Regions from separate parts of the Homo sapiens genome. Here regions 2 and 3 are each linked to region 1. Evidence: promoter capture Hi-C in 16 types of primary human blood cells and fetal thymus (Javierre and others, 2016). All regions are on one chromosome and are shown on one strand. Each heading gives the region's core, a stretch centred on a gene start or on the middle of the fragment in contact. The rest is flanking DNA. Distances are from core to core; before and after follow the strand shown.

Evidence for each region. Contacts are between HindIII fragments. The CHiCAGO score rates a contact against its expected background, and 5 or more counts as called.
Region 2: a fragment that was not itself captured here is called in contact with the fragment with the promoter of RFESD in region 1 in 1 of 17 cell types (M0 macrophages); the score reaches 5.4 in M0 macrophages.
Region 3: a contact is called between a fragment that was not itself captured here and the fragment with the promoter of RFESD in region 1, in 4 of 17 cell types (erythroblasts, endothelial precursors, megakaryocytes and 1 more). The highest score is 7.7, in erythroblasts.

What each region holds. Positions count from the first base shown.
Region 1 is chr5:95,645,125-95,648,192 of GRCh38, forward strand. It overlaps RFESD (Rieske Fe-S domain containing), which reads left to right and starts at 1,653. Exons shown (of 6, transcript NM_001131066.2): 1 at 1,653-1,693. The HindIII fragment of the contact is 4,150 bases long and covers 1-1,962 here.
Region 2 is chr5:96,612,592-96,615,659 of GRCh38, forward strand. All of the region lies in intron 4 of LOC101929710 (a long non-coding RNA gene), which reads left to right. It also overlaps a transcript of CAST not described here. Among named protein-coding and RNA genes, the nearest start is that of CAST, 48 kb to the right of the region's middle. The HindIII fragment of the contact is 1,613 bases long and covers 614-2,226 here.
Region 3 is chr5:96,338,113-96,341,180 of GRCh38, forward strand. The region is part of intron 3 of LOC101929710 (a long non-coding RNA gene); the gene reads left to right. The region is part of intron 1 of LOC107986365 (a long non-coding RNA gene); the gene reads left to right. It also overlaps a transcript of CAST not described here. Among named protein-coding and RNA genes, the nearest start is that of PCSK1, 94 kb to the right of the region's middle. The HindIII fragment of the contact is 2,936 bases long and covers 1-2,860 here.

The DNA of each region.
Region 1 (3,068 bases), core at 403-2,902:
TGGAAATTACAATAAATCAAAATATATTTTATATCTTTGATAACTGATACATCAAAACTAGATAGTTAATTTGTGTTTGGGTCAGTGAAAAAAATGGCCAAAAGGGAAATGACCCAATAAAATATTATTGATCACCATAAAACTGTATTGAAGAGAAAAAAAACAGAAGAAACTAGCACTGGAAACAAATTATTCTGAGCTATTCAACTTCTTACATGTTGAGGCTCATTTAAAAAATGGCATTTATATAGCACACTGAGGTAAATGGACAAAGTTCCTGGGTTTCGGCTGCCCCAGTTCATTGGGCCACCCTAGAGCCTGAGATCACTATGTCACCATACTAAATACAAGTTGTAGTGTTCAACCTTGGGTTCACACTGGAATCACTCAGGAAGTTAAAAACATACATTGAATCTGCCCACTCCCTTCCCACCCCAAATAATCTGTGTTTTATTTTGTTGGTCTGGCATACAGACTGGGCATTACGACTTTTCAAAACTCCCAAGCGACTCTAAGGCATAGCCAGGGTTAAGAATCACTGCACTGGAAAGTAGTCAAGGAAATTAAAAACTTAGGCTCATCTAGTTTCCCAGCTCGGAACACAAATATGAGGGTTTTGGTGGTTTTCTTTGTTGTTGTTGTTGTCAATTCAGGGAAGTACAATGAGAAAAAAGCAAAATTGCAAAGTTCATAATATGAAAGTGAAAACTCTCCATCTCCTCCCAAAGCAACCACTATTGTTTCTTTTGATTTTTCGAGAAAAAGTTTATGTACATACCTGCATGTTTGTATTTCAAAAAATAATTGTTTACATTAAAGAGAGGACACCATATATAGTATTCTACGCTTTGCCTTTAATATTCATTACATGATGGGCCTGTCCTTTGAGTATACAGTACACAGCTACGAAGTAATTCACATGTCTGTACTGTTGTGCTGTGTTTTATTGAACCATTCCTCCGTGTTATCACTTCAGCTATTTTCACTACTTCACAGCAATAAACATTTTTTTTTTTTTTGAGATGGAGTTTCGCTCGTGTTGTCCAGGCTGGAGTGCAACGGCGCGATCTCGGCTCACCGCAACCTCTGCCTCCTGGATTCAAAGCGATTCTCCTGCCTCAGCCTCCTGAGTACCTGCGATTACAGGCCTGGGCCACCACGCCCGGCTAATTTTGTATTTTTAGTAGAGATGGGGTTTCTCCATGTTGGTCAGGCTGGTCTCAAACTCCCGACCTCAGGTGATTCGCCCGCCTCGGCCTCCCAAAGTACTGGGATTACAGGCGTGAACCACCGCGCCCGGCCTTAACATCCTTATACATGGGTTACCAGCATCGCGACGACCTTCTGCAAATATTTTTATAGGGTAAATAACTGAATGAAGTCGCTGGGCGCATCTAAAATTTGAATAAATGTAATGAGATCAACAAACAACTAAAAAGTAAACTGATGCTATCCACATTTGTCAAGTACACGAGTATGCCTGCCAGTTTGAAGGTGCTGGCGCGGCGCTGTTGGCCAGAGATCTCTATCAACCAGGGTCATCTGCCGGCAATGCCATAGAGGCGGTCCCGGGGGCGGGCCTTCTTGGGTCACGTGGACGGCCTCGCCCCGCCCCCGTCGAGGCGCCGCGCACGTCTGGAGCTCTGGCTCGTGCAGTAGCGTCACGCGGAGGCGGAGCGAGGACTCGGGGACAGTAAGTTCTGTTCTCGCCGCGCAGGGGGCGGGCTGGCGGGACCAGCTGCTTCCGGCTGGGCTGCGGGCGTGGACTCCTCATTCCGGCTGTGGCCGCGCCGCTGCGGGGCCTGAGGCCCTCTTGGGTTTTGGTTCAGCGTTAGTTAACGGTTAACCCGCCAAGGCGGGCTTCCGCCCAGGCACAGGAGACTCACCGAGCTTGTTCACCTTGAAACTTGGGCCACACCTGAGACCTGCCACCTAAGGGGGGTACGCGGGTCGTTTTTAACAAGCTTTCATGGCATTTGTGCCATGAAAGCTCTAAAGTATAGAAGCTGCTCCAGGGCTTCCGCAGCCCCGGCCGTCCTGGAGATACTCGCCTCCTGGAGTCTGTGTCGAGAATTTGCAGCACCTGGACAGCCACGTGCAGTCTCAGAACTGCAGGCGGTCTTTACCGAAATGTTAAACACAACTTGAAGTTAGGCAGGATAACTGCCAGAGCTGGATGGACCTTAGAGGTGCCAGCTAACGCGCTGTGAGCGTTTTCTGCGGTTAGGCCTGCTCTAAACATTTGACATGTGTTAAAGCATTTATGTGCTTTACCCACACCCCTATGTGGCGGGCCCTTCTTAAAGTAAAAGAAACTGCAGCACAGCGAAGTTAAGCAACTTGCCCCAAATCACGCAGAACTGGGATGCAAACCCAGGTCTAGCTCACTCGTGATCACAATTCAACATCATACGATGGTGCTGATTTCCAGAGCAGCTCTGTGACTTTATATAAAATTATTGGGCAAGCGTTCAATTGTAAACATTCGTGAACATAGCTGTTGCACATTAGCGTTCCTTTTTTTTTTTAATTCAGGACCATCTTTGGTGACAAATATAAATATCAATACTATATATATCACCAATATACATATTTGCTTTGCTAAAAGGTTTCTGTGTCTTCAGGATAGTTTACTTGCAAGCCTCATGTTTTTATAAAAACGTGGGTGCTACCTGAATAAAACTAATGCCTACCCGTTGGCGGTTTTGTGAAGACTAATGAACTATTATATTCAAAGGGTCCAAGCAGTAGGCATTTACTAAAGGACAGCTAGTTTTATCTGTTATTATTCTGCCATTCAGAGAGATACCAAAACTACTCTCTAAGGCATTTCTCTTCCCTGCATGTAAAAGCAAGGGTGTCATACTTGAGATAAGCATTCTGATAATGTGTAGGCAAAGTTTCCACACTTGGTAAAAGCATCTTAGTCATGGTTCAAGACGAGTGACAAGTAAGTACGTTTCACTTCATGTTTCTTTTATCTCCCGTGTCTTGTGGAAATTTGAGTTACACTAAATATTTTTTTAAATTCCACTTGAATTTATTTCCTTTGTTGGAAAGGAATCTAA
Region 2 (3,068 bases), core at 170-2,669, 970 kb after region 1:
AAAACAAAAACAGAGAAATCTGCACTTGTACCGGTTTAAAGAAATAAATACGTTTTAATCTAATCAAATATATCAAATCTTTTACTTTATAATTTTGGTTTACTGGATTTTGTTAATATGCTCTTTCTTACACTGAGATTATGCAAAAATTCTTCTGCATTTTCCTCAAACTTATTTTAGTTTTGCTTTAGATGTTTAGATCTCTTATCAACGGGGTAACAATTTATCTTTGTGTATGATATAAACAAGAAGTCTAAATAAATATACACACATATATACATACATACACACATATATACATGTGTAAATACACAGTACATGTAATTTTTCTCTGTGGGTAACCAATTAATGTTTATCAGTTAGCCCATGCATGTTCTATTGATTTGTAATGCCACTGCTTCATGTATCCAATTTCCAAATATGTATGAGTCTCTTTCTGAACTCTCTATTCTGTTCCACTGGCAAGTCATCCATCACTGTGCCAATAGCACACTGCCTGAACTACTATAGTTTTATAATAAGTCTTGATATCTGGTAGAGTGACCCTCTCCATCTTCTTCTCTTTCAGAATTTTCTATTCCTAGCTGTTTTCTTCCATTCAAATTTTGAAATAAGCTTGTCAAGTTCAGCAATAAAAATCCAGTTGAGGTTATAATTTGAATTGCATTAGAATAGATGGATTTGAAGATGAATGACAGTTTTCTTCTTATCCTTGAACATGGTTTCATCTCTCCTTTCATTTAAGTATTCTCGAAGGTCTTTCAATGAAATTTCATACTTTTTTCATATTTGCACATCCTTTGTTAGATTTAATACTAGGTACTTCAGATTTTGTAATACTACTATTTGTGCTATCTGTATTTTCTGTTTAAGTCTTCACAACCCTATGAGTTAGATATTTTCACGTTCATTTTCTAGCTAAGGAAACTAAGGTCCAGAAAGATTAAGTAACTCACCATGTTATCAGTAGTCAGTGATGGGGACGGGATGCAAAACAAGTTCTATCTGACCCCAAATTCTGTGTTCTTAACCTCCAATCCATACTCTGTCTTCTGATGATTGTCTTTAAAGCATTTTTAAATGAAACAACTTAAGGGTATTCAAAGGCACAAAACAACAACAACAATAGTAACTACCTATCTCCCTGGAGAAAACGTTAAGTACCTCAAACTTTATTCTCTATACAAATAACCTGGGACTTCTATTACAATGTACATCTTAATCCTGTAGGTCTGGGGTGGAGCCTGCAAATATTTAGGTATTCCCAAATGTCTTTCAATGAAATTTTATACTTTTTAAAATAATTGCACATCTTTTGTTAGATTTAATACTGGGTGCCTTATACTGTTTTTTAAATTGTTGTTCATTTATCTGCATTGTGAGGCTGGGTATCCTCACAGCCCTATGAGTTAGATGTTTTATGTCTATTTTGTAATGAAGGAATCTAAGGTATAAAGTAACTAACAATATATCATCAGCAGTAAGTGACCAGGTAATACAAATGCTGCCGGTCCAAGGAACCCCTTCCAGAACCACCACTAACTCTACAGCATTTTCTGGTGAGGAACCCTTTAATTAACATGATTAAAGGTGAGAACTCCACCAGATGGCAGCAGAAGCTCATCATTTTGTCTCAAATGATTCCATTTCCCTCTGGATGGAGTGTTAGCTGTTGGCAAATGCCTGACTCGTTAGGTTATTGCGGTGAAGTGAATCAGAATCAGGGCCTTTCACTCCTGATGCTGTGTGCAATCTTACCTACTACAGCGCCTCAGTGTTGACAAGGGATTTTCAGCAAAAGCATCCAGCCGGGACATGCCCACGAGCTTCTCCCAAAAACCTTATGGCAGGAGGCTTATAAATGAGAATGAAAACTGTTTTCCATGGGTTGCTTTTTCATCACAGTGAGTTCAATTTAGGTACTTAACCAAGAAAAGGAAACATGATTTGAAATGTTTGGCAGGGGATTAGAAGAGGAAATGATTCATTCACTGTGGGGAACGGGAAGCTATTCAGGCAGATAAACCTGAAACAGAGTCCAAAGATTCAGAGGAAATCCAAGAATAATGCCAGGGACCCACCTCCATCCAAAGCCTAGGCCCAGCCTCTCCCCAGGGGTGCCAGATTACCCCTCTTCCTCAGTGCTTTTTTTCTTTTTAAAAACTGAATATATATATATAGTTGAATTATGAAAAGGATCCATCATCTTGTACTGCTCCCACCCTAAGCTTGGTAAAATGAGGCACCTGTCACTAAGAAGGCTAATGAGTTCATTATATTCTCTTGCCTTTTAGTTACTTAAAAGCAATAATTTGGGCACTGGGGAGGCCCTCAGCGCTGCCTTGAGTGAGCTGTGAGTAGGCTTTAGCCTAGTATAGGCAGCCCCCAAATTTCAATAGTTCAACTTAAGATTTTTGAACTTTACGATGGTGCAGAAATCATATGCATTCAGTAGAAGCTGTACTTGGAGTACCCATACAGCAATTCAATTCTGTTTTTCAATTTCAGTACAATATTCAATACATTACATGAGATATTCAGCACTTTATTATAAAACAGGCTTTGTGTTAGATGATTTGCCCAACCACAGGCTATTGTAATTGTTGGAGCATATTTAAGGTAAGCTAGGCTAAACTATGATGTTCAGCAGCTTTGGTGTATTAAGTGCATTTTTGACTTACAATATTTTCTATTTCCAGTAAGTTTATCCCATCGTAAGCCAAAGAGCAGCTGTACAGGATGGCATTTGGCAGTCCCTAGGCAGGTCTCACTTCCTCCTCTCCCCTTACTCTGCCATAACCATCTCTCCCATTGACTCAGTCAGCACTGTCTGTGCTGCTGCACAGGGCTGTCTCCCAGAGTGTGTTCACATAGTCCAGTCTATCAGATTGCTTTGCTAATGTGCCAATGGCAACAGGGAGAATGAAACAGACAAGGATTCTGTGGGCTGTCCTTGGCTGAGACGCACATTGAGGGAGAATTCAACCTGCTCCACCACGCCAGGCCCCAGGGAAGGAGGCCAGGGAGCCTAAGAGGGGTCAGGTGGAGGTGTATGGTAGTGAGTAGGG
Region 3 (3,068 bases), core at 143-2,642, 690 kb after region 1:
TATGACACAACAATTGTTAGACCATAATCATTAAGAAGTTCTGTCATCATCTTCTGTTAGGTTGAAACGTTCAACAAACAAAACAACAAACCTATTTTTATTCTGCTTTCATATTTCAAATGCATTTATGCACTTCAAATTTCAGTTTCAAATATTCTTGAGAGTTTCAAAAACTCTGCATCGTTTTTTGACTTATGACTTAATGCTATATGCTGCCTTATGCTGTTTTACTTCTGCTTTCTTCATACTTTGCTTCATTTATTATCCTATTCTTTCCTTCCTTCTTCCTTTGTAATCCTTGTTTATGGTATTATTAGAACTTGTAAATTTCTGTAGGTAGTGGTTACAATATAGGTAACTCACAAGGCCTAAACAGGTATATTTAGATAATAGAAAGTATTGAACTCTGAGTCTGGAGTGGGAAAAGTTGATCACATCACTTCTCCCCCCAAACAACTTTGCTCTGAGATTTAGTCTAAAGAGATTCACTTTTCAATAAGTAGAAATGTGATTTGGTGGATAGCTTGCTGCTCATTCCAAAGTATATTATATTTCTCTTTCTGGAAGCGAACCCCTGGGAAGAGGGTGCTTGGTGAGCTCTGGATGCCGTGCCCAGAGGCCAGGGGTTTTTGGAAATGCCGCAGAACATCCTGTTCCTGGGAGCCCTTCTGCCTGGTTGTTTGTGCTCTAGAGACTTGGCTCCTGGTGTTCTTGCTCAGACCTTTGGACTTTGGCAAGGCTACTTCTCATGTTTCTGTCTTCCTCTGTGTGCCATTCTGGCTCTGTAGATGGTTTGGTTTTTTGTGTTGTGACAGTGGAGGCTGCTTGGAGTGCACTGCCAGGCATTGGCTCATGGGCACTCTGCTCCATTTCAGTAACAGCAACAGAACTTGGATTTGACTGGGAAATAATAACCATTACTGGAAGAAAAAAGTAGCAAAACATATTTCCTAATATGTGCTAACATAATGAGGGGCCAGGTCTCCAGCTTTACGGGTGATTATTATAGTTTTTGATTGTTGCCAGTTACCAACACTAAGTACTTTAGCTGTGCAACTTGATTTGAACAGCATTGCCAGAAGAGCACCATCAAAGGCTTTTGATAACATGCTACCAAGAAAATATGTGACACCAAGATAACATACGACCCCAAGAAACTTATTTAATCTTCTTGGTGCATCTATAAAAATAGAACCAAGTAGAAAAACAGTATAAAAAGCAAAACGTTTCTCACTGGGGTTTTGTGAAGGATACCAACTAGCCCTCATGAAGTATTGTGAGTTTCCTGGAAGGAAGGCCTTTTGTAAGTTCAAGTTATTGCCATTCACTAATTATTGGTCATAACATTGCACATGATAGATGGGAAATGGAAGAGTGGGAGAATTAAGTGATTAAGCTAAAATCACACAGTGAGCTGGGGGAAAACCCAAAAGTGCAAAGAGATCTAAATTTGTTTCATTGGAAGAACACAGTTATATCTGGACAAAGCCCCAGAGTTTAAGTGACAAGGACACCTAACATAAAACTTGAAGTCATAGGCATGTAGCCAAATAATACAAATATCCTTGTTAAATGCAAGTGTATCCATACCAGTTATGGATACACTTGTCCTTGGAGGAGAGCTAAGGTGAGTCCTGCTGAGGACAGGAACTCTTCTGTGTTTGATTTGCAGGTAGAGCGAGTAGTTGACCCTCTGAGCCCAAAGCTGCAGAGAACACAGTAAACCTAGTAAACTGAGTGTGGCTATCTCCCCAGGGTGGCCCTCTGAGAATCCCTCCTAGGTTCCTGAGAGAGACAGGTAGACAGGCTATAGGTGGAAAGAGACAAAGTGCCTTGAGCTCTGTGGGTTAGGATCCTATCTTCAACCCCTAGACACTTAAAAGTCTTGCCTGAACTCATGGCCTTTCAATGAGGAAAGCATCACAGAAAGACTTTATGGTAATCGGACAGGAAACAATGACTGGGCAAAATTTTTTAAGCAGTCAGTATTAAGAGAAAGAAGGAAAGCCATGTCTTTGCTATTTACCTCAAGGTTATATTTTGCAGCATCTAATGCCAACTATTAAACAAGGATACACTCTTATCTAATTTGCGCTGTTGTCTTCCCAGGATCTGGAACATTTTCTGCGGGAGTCCACCTTTATCTCTAGAAGCCTCTGGCAAACTGTTTCATTTCAGCTCAGGTCCTTTTGTAGAAAGAACTTGATGCTGAAAGCAGCTCGCCCCTTCTGCCCTCAACCCCCACTCTCCCCCTACCCTCCCCACCATGGTTAACTTGTTTTTCATCTTTGTTCTGAGTTGCTTTGGCTGATTCAATTTTTATTTCCGTTTTTAATGAGTTAGTAATTCAGTGATCTTGGCTTTGAATCTTTGGAACTGTGGGTTTTTAGTAAGGATTGAATCAGCTTGTTGGCTCCTAATAGACTCTGAAATCCAGTAATATTCGTGATGTGTTTGTTCACTCCGTTGACTGCCAGGTCCCGGTAGGAGCAATGGCCAACAGAGAAGAATCGAGGTAAATCCTCCTTTGTTGCCTAAGAGCTGTTGTTGTTTACCCCAGTTTATAACCTCTTCACACTGAAGCATCACCCTTCAAAGGAGGATGTTGCTTCCCACTTTGATTATCATTTACTTGACTTTACAAGAAACTTTCACATCTTCCAAAACAGTAAGCTGTAAGATTTGCTCCAAGCTCTACGCAGTATATACTATGACTATTTTCCATTTAGAAATTAACTTACATTACAGCTGTAAGTCTATATACTGAACTTATGATGCTCGTTACTAAATGAATGATAATGGACATGAAATAGTCTGTAATTCATAGTCAAAATCTACCATTGCTATGTTTGTCTAAGGAAGCTTCAGTGAGTATACTTCAGATGCATATGAAGTTAGAAAAACAGTTAACAGAAATAGTTCAGTAGAGAAATCCTGATCCTAGGACTAATAAAACTAGATTTTCTTAAATCCAAATGCCTGTGAGATTCTATGCAGAAGGATAATTTGTATCCAGCATGTAAATAATCATGATTCTCAGAAGGAATTATTTGCACTTTAATTGCTCT